Regions from separate parts of the Homo sapiens genome. Here regions 1 and 2 are each linked to region 3. Evidence: promoter capture Hi-C in 16 types of primary human blood cells and fetal thymus (Javierre and others, 2016). All regions are on one chromosome and are shown on one strand. Each heading gives the region's core, a stretch centred on a gene start or on the middle of the fragment in contact. The rest is flanking DNA. Distances are from core to core; before and after follow the strand shown. Region 1 overlaps ITGAM (integrin subunit alpha M). Region 2 has its middle 17 kb from the start of ITGAM. Region 3 holds the start of PRSS36 (serine protease 36).

Evidence for each region. Contacts are between HindIII fragments. The CHiCAGO score rates a contact against its expected background, and 5 or more counts as called.
Region 1: a fragment that was not itself captured here is called in contact with the fragment with the promoter of PRSS36 in region 3 in 2 of 17 cell types (M2 macrophages and M0 macrophages); the score reaches 8.1 in M2 macrophages.
Region 2: a contact is called between a fragment that was not itself captured here and the fragment with the promoter of PRSS36 in region 3, in 1 of 17 cell types (monocytes). The highest score is 5.8, in monocytes.

The regions. Positions count from the first base shown.
Region 1 is chr16:31,268,565-31,273,120 of GRCh38, reverse strand. ITGAM (integrin subunit alpha M) reads right to left here. Exons shown (of 30, transcript NM_000632.4): 6 at 2,037-2,167; 7 at 1,129-1,274. Among named protein-coding and RNA genes, the nearest start is that of ITGAM, 11 kb to the right of the region's middle. RefSeq lists enhancers at 788-1,313, 1,314-1,839. The HindIII fragment of the contact is 3,863 bases long and covers 1,126-4,556 here.
Region 2 is chr16:31,240,696-31,245,484 of GRCh38, reverse strand. No RefSeq gene overlaps it. Among named protein-coding and RNA genes, the nearest start is that of ITGAM, 17 kb to the left of the region's middle. RefSeq lists enhancers at 97-600, 601-1,105, 1,467-1,556. The HindIII fragment of the contact is 8,842 bases long and covers 1-4,789 here.
Region 3 is chr16:31,148,583-31,153,174 of GRCh38, reverse strand. PRSS36 (serine protease 36) reads left to right here and starts at 3,109. Exons shown (of 15, transcript NM_173502.5): 1 at 3,109-3,176; 2 at 3,444-3,479; 3 at 3,677-3,712; 4 at 3,940-4,102; 5 at 4,500-4,592. The coding sequence starts at 3,140. RefSeq lists enhancers at 2,865-3,401, 3,402-3,937, 3,938-4,475. The HindIII fragment of the contact is 9,446 bases long and covers 1-4,592 here.

The DNA of each region.
Region 1 (4,556 bases), core at 1,808-4,307, 120 kb before region 3:
CTCACTATGTTGTCAATTGGTCTCAAACTCCTGGCCTCAAGTGATCCTCCCACCTCGGCCTCCTAAAGTGCTGACATTACTGGTATGAGACCCTGCACCTAGCCAGAGATGCTATTAACGTCAGAAAGGAAATGTCAGCAGAGTCCCAGACACAGATACAGCTAGGCGAGGTCTCGGAGGGGCTCCGTCTCCCCTGAGACTTAGCACTGAGATGCAACTGCCCCGAGACCTGGAAAAGCAGCAGGGAAGGGAAAGGAAGCCTTCACGGTTTTTGTTTTTATACTTTCGCATAATTTGGGTTTTTTAACTGAGTATTATTACTTTTGAATTTTAAAAATATATATATTTATGGCTGACACTTGTAATCCCAGCACTATGGGAAGCCAAGTCAGGTGAATCACCTGAGGTCAGGAGTTCAAGACCAGCCTGGTCAACATGGTGAAACCCTGTCTCTACTAAAAATACAAAAATTAGCTGATGGTGGTGATGGACGCATGTAATCCCAGCTACTCAGGAGGCTGAGGCAGGAGAATTGCTTGAACCCAGGAGGTGGAGGTTGCAGTGAGCCGAGATCAGGCCACTGCATTCCAGCCTGGGTGACAGAGTGAGACTCTGTCTCAAAAAAAAAAAAAAAAAAAAAAAAAAAAAAAAAAAAAATATATATATATATATATATATATATATATATATATATATAGTTAATTGGCCTTCAGGAAACCTCTCCCAGAGCACTGCACCAGCTCCCCAGCCCCTCTAGGACTCTCCAGTGCTTCTTGTACTTCTGTCCCAACCCCATCCTTGCCTCTACACCCACCTCAAAATCAGAGTGAACTTCCCAAAATGAGACATGGCGATATCTCACCACAGGCTGTAAAGCTGCCTTTGGCTCCCTGGCCTGAGCTGATCTTTGTAGCTTCCCTCCAGACACCTTTCCCTCACTTCCCCACTCCACTCCCACCTTTCACTCACAACTTGTCCTTTGATGAACACACCACGCACAGCCTCCCCACCTCTGCCGGTGGGGAAGCATCCTCTACCACCCCTGTCTGAACGGCTCCCTTCATCCATCAAAGCCCAGCTAAAAGTGTCTCCTCCTCCCTCCATCCTAAGGGAAAAGGGGAAGCTTACACCACTTTGCGGATGCCCGTGGCCGTGTGTGTCCGCCCAAGCAGCTGCGTTATTGGCTTCACCAGTGATCTTGGGTTAGGGTTGTTCTGGAACTCTTTGAAGGTAAAGTGAATCCGGAATTCTTCAGAGTACTGCATCAAAGAGAACTGCGGAGGGGGCGGCTGGTGTGATGCTGGAGAAGGTGCCCCCACCCCTCAGACATCTCCCAGCAAGCTCCACGAAGATCTTAAACACTCCACTCTCCAAATTCCTCCTCTGTGCTGCCCCTAATCCCCTGCCTCACCAGGACGGAGAGCTGCCAGCAGCTCCCATCTCTCCTCAATACTAGAACACGGCCAGCGGCCGGGAGCAGTGGCTCACACCTGTAATCCCAGCACTTTGGGAAGCCGAGGCGGGTGGATCACCTGAGGTCAGGAGTTTGAGACCAGCCTGGCCAAAATGGTGAAACCCCGTCTCTACTAAAAATACAAAAACTAGCCAGGCATGGTGGCATGCGCCTGTAATCCCCGCTACTCGGGAGGCTGAGGCAAGAGAATTGCTTGAACCCGGGAGGCGGAGGTTGCAGTGAGCCAAGATCACACCACTGCACTCCAGCCTGAGAGAAAGAGTGAGATTCTGTCTCAAAAAAATAAGAAATAAAAATGAAAATAGAACTCAGCCAGCAATGACACGTGGGCTTCATCTCCCATGCCAACCTTAACAATTAGAGCTGCCCGCTTTATAAAAGGCTGAAAGAATGCTGAGGCTGCATCCAACAGAGCAGAAAAGAGACTCAGGAAGGCAAACCATAATCGATCGTCAATTTGGCAATGTCTGCAGTTGAACTGGGAGGAGAACATGGTGGCCCGGTTGCCATGTATCTTCCAGCCCCGTGTGGGCTCTTCCCTAACCTACCCCTGGGCCCTCACCAAGGTTTTGGACTTTTTTAATTGCTCCATCACAGTTGAGACAAACTCCTTCATCCGCCGAAAGTCATGTGGGATGATGCTACCAGAGCCATCAATCAAGAAGGCAATGTCACTATCCTCTTGAGGACACCCTGGGGAAGGGGAAAAGAGTATGAATCAAGTAATTTGACACTTGGTGTTTTGGGTTTTTTTGCATGTCAGCCCTCTGCTGAACAATGAGAATATAGGACCCCGTCTCTATAAAAAATATAGATGTTAAATATATATATAAATTATGTATAATATATATATAATTTTTAACGTGTGTGTATATATATATATGTATACACACGTTAAAAACATATATATATATATATATATATATATATATATATATATATATATACACACACACACGTTAAAAATTAGTCAGGCATGTTGGCACATGCCTGTAGTCCCAGCTACTCAGGAGGCTGAGGGTGGGGGATCACTTCAGCCCAAAAGGTTGAGGCTTCAGTGAGCTATGATCACGCCATTGCACTCCAGCCTGGGCCACAGAGAAAGACCCTGTCTCTTAAAAATAAATAAATAAGTAAATAAACAAGGACAAAGTGGTATGGAAAATTTTCGTTAATTCTGCCCAAGGGAATCAGGGAATGTGGTGATGTTTGACTGAATCTTGAAGAACAGGAAATAATTTGCCCAGCTGGGCGAGGTGGCTCACACCTGTAATCCCAGCACTTTGGGAGGCTGAGGCAGGTGGATCACTTGAGATCAGGAGTTTGAGACCAGCCTGGCTGACATGGTGAAACCCTATCTCTATTAAAAATACAAAAAGTAGCTGAGATCGCACCACTGCACTCCAGCCTGGGTCACAGAGCAAGACTTCGAAGAAAAGGAAGAAAGGAAGAAAAAAAGGAAAGGAAAGGAAAGGAAAGGAAAGGAAAGGAAAGGAAAGGAAAGGAAAGCAAAGGAGGAAGGAAGGAAGGAAGGAAGGAAGGATTTGCCAGATATACAAAAGGAGTAGATTCTAGAAAAGGGAAGGGCACACACATATAAAGTGATGTGGAATGTGCTCCTCTGCCTTCTGCCCCATCCCCAAATCCACTTTCTACCCATTGCCGCTCAGCTCTGTGGCCTGGGAGGTCAACCTGCAGGGACCCCATCACCAGGACTCTGTTGCCCTCTGGATTCCCATTGGATTTGGCAGATGAGGGGGCTCAACAGAAGACTAGAGGGAGGAGGGCAGTGAGGTCCGGGTGTTCTCCCATTGAGGTTGTTTGGGGACAGCTATGTCCTTCACAAAAGACCAACTGTTCCTCAGAAGGAAGCCAGCTCCACATGACTCTCTCCAGACCCTGGTGAGCTCTCCCTCTCCTCAACCCATAAACCCAGGGGTGGCAACAGACCTGCTTGCCCAGGGCTTGGAAAGTCCCTGATGGCTCCCTTAGGCCTGTCACAGCTTTATAATTACTCCCTTTATAAATAAACCCCCCTCTTTGTAAATAAATCTTACTGAAACCGCCTTTGCAAAATTATGACTGAGACAGTGAAAGAGATCTAACTTAACTGATTCCATCTTGCTTCTAACCTCCAAGCTGTCCGTGTTCATTCCTGGGTGTAGGCTGAGCTAACTTTGGGAGACACTTAGTTTATAGTTTATAGTTTATAGTTTAAACAAAGATCGTAACAGCCCTTTCCCAAAGCAGACCTCCTTCTTACCTGGGGACTAGATTGCCTTTGTAGGACTAACGTTAGCCACAAGATGAGAAATTATGATTTAGGAGTCATGCAGCTGGAGGCTACAAGATTCTGACCCTCCCTAAACTGCTCCTAAAATCAGTGCTTGAGATATTTTGCAGACCTTGCACTTGATGGATCAGCTGGCACTGCCCAGATCAATAAACTGGTTCATCCGATCTTGCTGCCCCCACCCAGGAACCAACTGAACGCAAGAAGACAGCTCCGACTCCCGATGATTTCATCCCTGATCAATCAGCACTCCCAGCTCACTGGCTTCCCCCGCGACCTACCAAGTTATCCTCAAAAACTCTGCCCCCAAATGCTCGAGGAGACTGATTCGAGTGATAATAAAACTCTGGTCCCCTGCATAGCTGGCTCTGTGTGAATTATTCTTTCTCTATCGCAATTCTGCTGTCTTGATGAATCGGCTCTGTCTAGGCAGCAAGCAAGGTGAACCCCTTGGGCAGTTACATTACTGGAATGTGCTTTTGGTCCCAGTTGAGACTCCTACTGATATATGGGACAAGGGCCTCAAAAGGATTCTGGCAGAATCCAGGAATGCCGTTTGATGGAAACAGCACTACAGGGACAAACGTATGTGACGGCGATGGAGACACAGCGGTGGCATCAAGCAAAGAGCAGCGGGCAAGGGCCTTTCTACTCCAATAAGGAGCTCGACTTTATCTGTAGGCAATGGGGAGCCACAGAAGGTTCTTAGAAAAGGAAGTGAGATGATTTGTTTTGTATTTTAGAAAGACTGGCAGGGCACAGTGGCTCATGCCTGTAACCCCAGCACTT
Region 2 (4,789 bases), core at 1,713-4,212, 92 kb before region 3:
TGTCTCCCCTGGACACCCAGCTTTAAAATTTCTCTCTTTTGTACTCTGTCCCTTTATTTCTCAGACCAGCTGACACTTAGGGAAAATAGAAAAGAATATTCTATGTGAAATATCAGGGGTGAATTTCACCCGATATCTGGCTGAATTTCCCTCAATACTCATCTCTACAGAAAAATTTAAAATTCACACCACTGCATTCCAGCCTGGGCAACAGAACAAAACTCTGTCCAAAAAAAAAAAAAAAAAAAAAAAGCCAGGCACAGTGGCTCACGCCTGTAATCCTAGCACTTTGGGAGGCCAAGGCGAGCAGATCACCTGACGTCGGGAGTTCAAGACCAGCCTGACCAACATGGAGAAACCCCATCTCTACTAAAAATACTTTTTAGCCGGGCATGGTGGCACATGCCTGTAATCCCAGCTACTCAGGAGGCTGAGGCTGAGGCAGGAGAATCACTTGAACCTGGGAGGTGGAGGTTGCGGTGAGCTGAGATCACACCATGGCACTCCAGCCTGGGCAACAAGAGTGAAACTCCATCTCAACAAACAAGGCCAGGCGTGGTGGCTCACGCCTGTAACCCCAGCACTTTGGGAGGCCAAGGCAGGCGGATCACCTGAGGTCGGGAGTTTGAGACCAGCCTGACCAACATGGAGAAACCCCATCTCTACTAAAAATACAAAATTAGCCGGCGTGGTGGCGCATGCCTGTAATCCCAGCTATTCGGGAGGCTGAGGCAGGGGAATCCCTTGAACCTGGGAGGCAGAGTTTGTGGTGAGCCGAGATCGCACCATTGCACTCCAGTCTGGGCAACAAGAGCGAAACTCCATCTCAAAAAAAAAAAGGAGGAAGAGAATATAGCTTTTTAAACACTAAAACACATTTCACAAAAACCATTAAGCATTTTTAGTTGTCTAGGGTGGTACACACCTGTAGTTTCAGCTACTCAGGAGGCTGAGGCAGAAGGATCACTTGAGCCCAGGAGGTCAAGGCTGCAACGAGCCACAGTCATGTGACTGCACTCCAGCCTGGGCAACAGAGTGAGACCCTGTCCCAAAAAAAAAAAAAGTTATGTGATTATATGCCAAGTATTTACAACAGAGATTATGTCTGTTGGGATGCTTTGAGCTACAAATAACAGAGATCACAACTTAAACAATAGCCCATGAATCCTATCACAGAAAGAGGCCAGACAGGAGCTCCAGGGCAGGGTAATCGGAAGCTCAGCAGTGTCTGTTAAACACCGAGTGATTTTATCTCACATCACTGGATTCCACAAGGCTGAACTGAATTGTTGTCAGGTTCCTCTTTGCTATTCTGAAGTTTCTCCTCACTTCCCCTTTTCCCATTGAGGAGTGGGCCTCCCTTACCTAATGTGTTTCACTTCCCCGGTATCTACAACTACAATTTATTGGGCTTCCTGCTGGACTCTTAGAAATGAAGCAATGAATTCCTCACTTATTCATTTACTCATTAAAATATATAAACTCAAGATAAACTCGAGAGACTGAGGCAAGAGGATCTCTTGAGCCCAGGAGTTCAAGGCTGCAGTGAGCTATGATCGTGCTACTGCACTCCAACCTGGGTAACAGGGTAAGACTCTATCTCTTTAAAAAAAAAAAAAAAGTATCTCTCTCTCTCTTTTTTTTTTTTTTTTTTTTTTGAGATGGAATTTCGCTCTTGTTGCCCAGCCTGGAGTGCAATGGCGAGGTCTCAGCTCACTGCAACTGCTGCCTCCCAGGTTCAAGCAATTCTCCTGCCTCAGCCTCCCAAGTAGCTGGGATTACAGGCACCTGTCACCATGCCCAGCTAATTTTTGTTTTTTTAGTAGAGACAGGATTTCACCATGTTGGCCAAGCTGGTCTTGAACTCCTGACCTCAAGTGATCTGCCCACCTCAGCCTCCCAAAATGCTGGGATTACAGGCATGAACCACCATGCCCAGCTTGCTCTATCTCTCTTTCTCTCTCTCTCTCTCTATATGTATAGGTATATGTATACCTATACATATATATCCAGATATATAGAGATAACGTGTGTGTGTGTATATATATATATATATAATGTGTACATATATATAATGTGTACGTATATATAATGTGTATGTGTGTATATATATAGAGAGAGAGAGAAAGTGAGAGAGAAACAACTATGTACCAGGCATCAGGGACCTACAAATAAGCAAAACACACAAGGTCCCTTCCCTCACAGAGCTTTTCTTTCTTTCTTTCTTTCTTTCTTTCTTTCTTTCTTTCTTTCTTTCTTTCTTTCTTTTCTTTTCTTTTTGGTAGAGGTGGGTCTCACTATGTTGCTCAGGCTAGTCTTGAACTCCTGGCCTTAAGTGACTTAGCCTCTGAGAGTGCTGGGATTACAGGCGTGAGCCACAGTGACTGGCCCAAACACAAATTTTTCTTTCTTTCTTTTTTTTTTCCAAGGCAGAGTCTCGCTCTGTCACCCAAGCTGGAGTGCTGTGGTGCGATCTTGGCTCACTGCAACCTCCATCTCCTGGGCTCAAATGATTCTCGTGCCTCAGACTCCCAAGTAGCTGGGATTACAGGCACACACCACTACACCTGGTTAATTTTTTTTATTTCTCGTAGAAACGGGGCCTCACTGTGTTGCCTAGGCTGGTCTCAAACTCTTGGCCTCAAGCATTCCTCCCTCTTCAGCTTCCCAAAGTTCTGGGATTACAGGCATGAGCCTTCACACCTGGCCTCGCTTGTCTTTTTTTCTTTGAGAGAATTTGTTTCTCATAATTGCAACCATAGTGGATTTATTGTTTGATGTGATTGTTGTCTCTTATGAGTATTGCTTATTTCATTAAAAAACTCTTTGATATTAGATCTCACACTATTTGATTCGCAAAGTTGCGAATCATGGTTTCGCAAAGTTGCAAAAGATGGTTTAAGGGTGAAGGAAAAGCGTTCATTCACACAGCGAAAGCCATTTCTATCCATTCATCCAGGCCTTGGGCAACTGAACAGTGGGCATTTCCTGGTTCTTGAGTCCTTTCCTGAAACACCCAGCTACACCCGAACCTTGCTAAATTCTCTGCTCTGTCTCAACTCCGGGACAAAAGCCAGAAAAACAGTAGCAGCAGTTTAGATTGGCCATGACTACTTTCAACTTTACTAATACAAGCCTCCCTTCTGAGGATATTAGAGTCACATTCTACCCCCATCCCCACCCCCAGGCAAACGCTTCAGAATTCTTTCAGGATGGGGATTAACTAATAACCGCATGGGGAAGAGAAGCCAAGATTGAGAGATAGATCAGGCTCCTGGGCCAACACCATCACTATTGCTGTTGGGAACTGCTGAGAGACTGTTTTCTCCAATGAACTGGAGACCTGATTCCAACCCTCCCTTCATTCCCTAAGAGGGTCAATTAAGATCATGGATATGAAAGCACTTTGTAAAATCTGAAAGTGCTACCCATGTGATTGCATCTGAATTGGGATGTTATGAGTTAGGGTTCAGGTTTCAAGCACCAGTTAGAAATCTTTTAGGGACTGAGGCTGGGCATGATGGCTCACGCCTGTATTCCCAGCAGTTTGGGAGGCCAAGGCAGGCAGATCACCTGAGGTCAGGAGTTCAAGACCAGCCTGGCCAACATGAGTGAAACCCCATCTCTACTAAAAATACAAAAAATAGCCCGGAGTGGTGGCGTGAGCCTGTAATCCCAGCTACTCGGGAGGCTGAGACAGGAGAATCACTTGAACCCAAGAGGCGGAGGTTGTAGTGAGCAAGATTGCACCACTGCACTCCAGCCTGGGAGACAGAGCGAGACTCCATTTCAAAAAAAAAACAAATAAATAAAATAAATCTTTTAGGGACAAGGGATTTTCCCACCAGGTAGAGCAGCAGGGATGTTGACCCAAAGAATCCATGCTCAGGACCCAGGTCCCACCCTGATGGAAGGAGCTTGCAGTGCCAAGAGAGTGTGTTGCCATCACTCAGGCACTGTGAAGGCACAAAAAAAATGCCCTGTGCAGATGACACTTAAGCCAAAGCTGTCCAAACATTTCCTCTGTAACACAAGGAGAAGAACTCCATAAACAGAGTTGAAGGACAAGCTGTCAGATTAGGAGAAAACACTTGCCACACATGTATGTAGCAGAAAAAAAAAAAAGTATGCAGATATATAAAGAACCACAATAACTCATGAAGGAAAATAAGCAGCCGGGCGCACGGTGGCTCGTGACTGTAATCCCAGCACTTAAGGAGGCTGCGGAAGGTGGGTCACTTGAGGTCAGGAATTCGTGACCAGCTTGGCCAACATGGTGAAACCCCTTCTCTACTAAAAATACAAAAAGCCGGGCGTGGTGGTGCGCGCCTGTAATCCCAGCTACTCAAGAGGCTGAGGTAGGAGAATTGTTTGATCCTGGGAGGCAGAGGTTGCCGTGACCCAAGATCGTGCCACTGCACTCCAGTCTGGGTGACAGAGCGAGACTCCGTTTCAAAAAAAAAAAAAAGCCAAGGCATAGGAACAGACCATTTTTAGAAGAGGAATTATAACTGGTCAATAAATGCATACAATGAGAAAAATATAAATTAAACTTTTAAAAAGCCATGTGATACTATTTATTTATTTCCCATCATGTTGGCAAAAAGAAATAAGAATTTGAGCTTGATAATATTGAGTGCTCCAGCATGGCCAACATGGTGAAACCCTGTCTCTACTAAAACTACAAAAATTAGCCAGGCATGATAATTTTAGCCAGGCAAAAATTAGCCTGAAATCCCAGCTACTCGGGAGGCTGAGACAGGAAAATCCCTTGAACCCAGGAGTCGGA
Region 3 (4,592 bases), core at 1,860-4,359:
AGACCAGCCTGACCAACATGGAGAAACCCCTGGGCAGCTGGGACTACAGGTGCACACCACCACACACAGGATCGCGTTATGCTGCCCAGGTTGGTCTAGAACTCCTGGCCTCCAGCAATCCTCCCATCTTGGCCTCCCAAAGCACTAGTACAGGCTTGAGCCACTGCACCTGGCCCCAAAATTTTATTTATTTATTTATTTATTTCGAGACAGAGTCTCACTCTATCACCCAGCCTGGAGTGCAGTGGTGCGATTTCAGCTGAGCACAACCTCCGCCTCCTGGGTTCAAGCCATTCTCCTGTCTCAGCCTCCTGAGTAGCTGGGATTACAGGCACATGCCACCATGCCCAGCTAATTTTTTAATTTTGAGTAGAGATAGGGTTTTACCATGTTGGCCAGGCTGCTGGTCTTGAACTCCTGACCTCATGATCCACCTGCCTCGGCCTCCCAAAGTGCTGGGATTACCAGCATGAGCCACCGCGCCCAGCTCCAAAATGTTTATTAACCACTAAATTGGAGCAAGCAATGTATCGGTGAGGGTCTCCAGGGCGTGCATGTTTTGCGTCAATGACACTTGCACTCTCTTCTTTCCTACCTTTGCCCATTACCTCATTTTTCTGAGTTTTGGTTAAATGATTGGTTATTTATCCTTTGAAGGGCAAATAGCTACCCAAGCAGCAAGTTAAACAAATGCCTGAGGAGGCTCTCATTGTTAAGAAATCTGAAGTTAAGACTCAATTTACCTCCATCGTTTCCTGTGGACAGGCTAAGGCTAGCAGGTTTATCAATTGAGCCCAGTCCGTTGCTGGGTGGCTGAATTTGCATTTTCCCTCTTCCTGCTCACTTCTCATTTTCCCTCAATCTTGCCACCCTGGGATTGCACCTCCCAATTAAGCACAAGCATGCAGGCTTTGCCTAGGCCTGTTTTCTAGGGCAACTAGACTCATAGACCAATATTATTATTAATTGATATTATCAGTAAGAAGATAGATACACATGTGTAAATATTCCTGGGTTGACCCTGCATTTCTGCTGTCCACCCTGATTTGTTCCCTAAGAGTGACCTTTATGGACCATATAATGGTCTCCCTTGAACTCTGGCCTCTGGGAGGTTTCAATGAAAAGAGCCAGGGGGTGATCAGAGGATGGGAGGATCCCAGCACTTTTGGAAGACTGAGGCAGCAAGATCGCTTGAGACAGGAGTTTGAGACCAGCCTGGGCAACATAATAAGACCCCATCTCTACAAAAATAAAAAACATTAGCTGGGTATGGTGGTGCGTGCCTGTAGTCCCAGCTTCTCAGGAGGCTGAGGCCAGAGGATCGCTTAAGCCCAGGAATTCGAGGTTACAGTGAGCTATAATCACAGCACTGCACTCCAGCCTGGGTGACAGAGTGAGACCGTGTCTCTAAAATTTTTTAATTGGTTTAATTAAAAATAGAGAGGATGAGATGAGAGTGAGATGGGGATTTTTCTTTCCCCACTCCCTCTCTGCTGGTAAAGGCTGCATTTCTCTATTGAAGGCCACGGCTCCTAACAGCTATCTCTTCCATAGCTGCAGCTCTTGCTGGGTTCCAGTAACTGCCCCCTCTCTGCCTCTTCAGGCCAGCAGGTAGCAAGGGCTCTCTATTATTGCTGGCCCCAGGATGCGTTACCATCCCTCTTTGGTTTCCTTTTTTTTTTTTTTTTTGTGAGACGGAGTTCGCTCTTGTCACCCAGGCTAGAGTGCAACGGCGCTATCTTGGCTCACTGCAACCTCCACGTCCTGGGTTCAAGCATTTTTATCTGCCTCAGCCTCCCTAATAGGTGGGATTACAGGTGAGTTCCACCACACTCGGCTAATTTTTGTATTTTTAGTATAGATGGGGCTTCTCCAAGTTAGCCAGGCTGGTCTTGAACTCCTGACCTCAGGTGATCTGCCCGCCTCGGCCTACCAAAGTGCTGGGATTACAGCCGTGAGCCACCCAGCCTCTTTGGTTTCCTTTGACCCTGCCTACACTTCTATAAATAGTTTCTTCCTTAAACTCTCTTCAACTCCTCTTTGAAGAGCCATATGTTTCTTTCTTCTTCTTATTCTTCTTTTTTTTTTTCTTTTTGTTGTTGTTGTTGAGACAGGGTCTCGCTTTGTCACCCAGGCTGGAGTGCAGTGGCACAATCATAGCTCACTGCAACCTCGACCTCCCAGGCTCAAGCAATCCTCCCACCTCATCTCCCGAGTAGCTGGGATACAGACGTGCACCACCACGCCCTGCAGTTCATAATTTTTGTATTTTTTAATTTTTTGTAGAGATGGGGTCTTGCTATGTTGACCAGGCTGGTCTTGAACTCCTAGCCTCAAGCAATCCTCCCACCTCAGTCTCCCAGAGTGTTAGGATCACAGGAGTGAGCCACCGTGCTCGGCCAAGTCATATGTCCCTTAAACTGGCTCTTACTGATACACACCAAGAGGTTGGGTTACTTTCCCAAAGTCACACAGAGTAAGTGACAGGGCAGCTAAGAGCATTGTCACTGGAACACAGAGCAGGGTGGAGGCTTTTTCAGCCTCGCCAGCCTGCCCAGCCCCCTCCCAGGGTCCCTATGCCCTGCCCAACCTGCTGGAATCTGTGATCCTTTTGTTGGGATGGGATTGAATTCCCTAGGGCTCCTGTCCCAGACCTGGCCAGCAGCTCCAGTAACCAGAGCTGTGTGAGAAGAAAAGGCCAAGCCACTGGGGCAGCCGCACCCCAAACAGAGGTGAGGTCTCCGATGAGTCATGCCCGTGAGGGGCCACTTCCCCTGTCCTAAGGGCCACTGCTCACCAAGGACACAGAACACTGTCCTCCTCTTTGACCTTTGCCTGCAGTGTTTTTCATCCCTCCCTCTCCCACCCAACAGGTGTCCAGGAGCTAGGACACCTGTCCTCCACCCCCACCCTGGGCCTCCAGAGACATGAGATGTGCGCAGGGCTCTGGGTGGGGCCTTCAGGCTCCCCAGCTTCCCCCTTCCAGCCCCAGATCCTCTCAGATTCCCAGAGATGGGCTCCAGCCAGGGAGGGTGGGGCTGCCCCTGGGACCATCAGGAGTCACGGGCTGCCTGGGCAGTGACAGAGCCCTGCAGGGAGCAGACCTTCACTTGGCTCTGCCTCCGCTGACTCTAGCGCCATGGCCCGGCACCTGCTCCTCCCCCTTGTGATGCTTGGTAACCTCAGGGGACAAGAGTGGCTGCAAAGGGCCTGGGTCCTGGCATCTGGGGGGCTGGAGAGCAGGATTCCTGGTTTCTGTGTGGGGAGCAGGAAGTCAGAGAGAAGGAAGTGAGGCAGCAGAAGGCGAGGATGTATCAGAGGAGGGAGAGGGAGGCCTGGGTGCCCTGGGGAGACGGAGGCTAGGAGGCTGGGGGAGGGAGTCAGGGAGGGCACATACTGAGTGCGAGTCGCCAGCCTCTTCCTGCCTACCTCTGTCTTTCCAGTCATCAGTCCCATCCCAGGAGCCTTCCAGGACTCAGGTAAGGTAGCCGGACTGGGGGAAAGTCACGTGCAGAGGCAGAAAAGACCAGAGGACTGGCATGGGTGCTGGCAGGGGTTGCTGAACGGACAGGGAAGTGGGAAGATAGGGTCGGGGGTTGGAGAGCAGGAAGTGGGGCTGGGCGGTGCAGGCCTGGAAGTCACAAGTGTCCTCCTCTCTTTCCCCTCTGGCTCCCAGCTCTCAGTCCTACCCAGGAAGAACCTGAAGATCTGGGTAAGGAAGAGGCCTTGGCACCCTCAGACCTTAAAGGAGGCTAAGGCTGGTCAGGCCATGAGGGAGGTGGAAAAGACCAGAAATGTAGACAAGCCTGGGTCCTCTATGTTCTTTGTTCAGAGGGGCAAACTGAAGTGGGTGGAGGACGGGCCTTCGTCCTGAGTTACCTGGGCTTCTGGAGTGGGGAACCCGAGGGGAGCTTTGGCTTCCACGGCTCCCCGTTGCAGACTGCGGGCGCCCTGAGCCCTCGGCCCGCATCGTGGGGGGCTCAAACGCGCAGCCGGGCACCTGGCCTTGGCAAGTGAGCCTGCACCATGGAGGTGGCCACATCTGCGGGGGCTCCCTCATCGCCCCCTCCTGGGTCCTCTCCGCTGCTCACTGTTTCATGACGTGAGTATTCGCCCTGGTCCTGGCCCCTCTCCGCCAAAAGCTGGCCCCCGCCCCCGCAGTTGGTCCCCTCCTCCCGCCCCACTTCCGTCCTCAAGGATAATTTGGAGCCAAGCTGTCCCCAAAGCGAGGTGCTATTCGAGGCATCATGGTTCCGAGTGGGGCAAGGCTGCCGGACTGGTCCCACCACTCCACTCAATATCCGGGTCTGAATCCCATCTTTCCAATGACCCCCCCACCACCAGCTCCAAATCGGATTTGCTCTTCCCCTTTGAGGAGTATCAGCACCAAATCTGGATCGGATAGCACCTGCCCCTCTGGCTCTGAGCCCCTGCCCCCAACGAGGGTCTGCCCCCTCCATAGGGTCAACCTAACCTCCTACTGCCCCGGTCGAGCGCAGGAATGGGACGCTGGAGCCCGCGGCCGAGTGGTCGGTACTGCTGGGCGTGCACTCCCAGGACGGGCCCCTGGACGGCGCGCACACCCGCGCAGT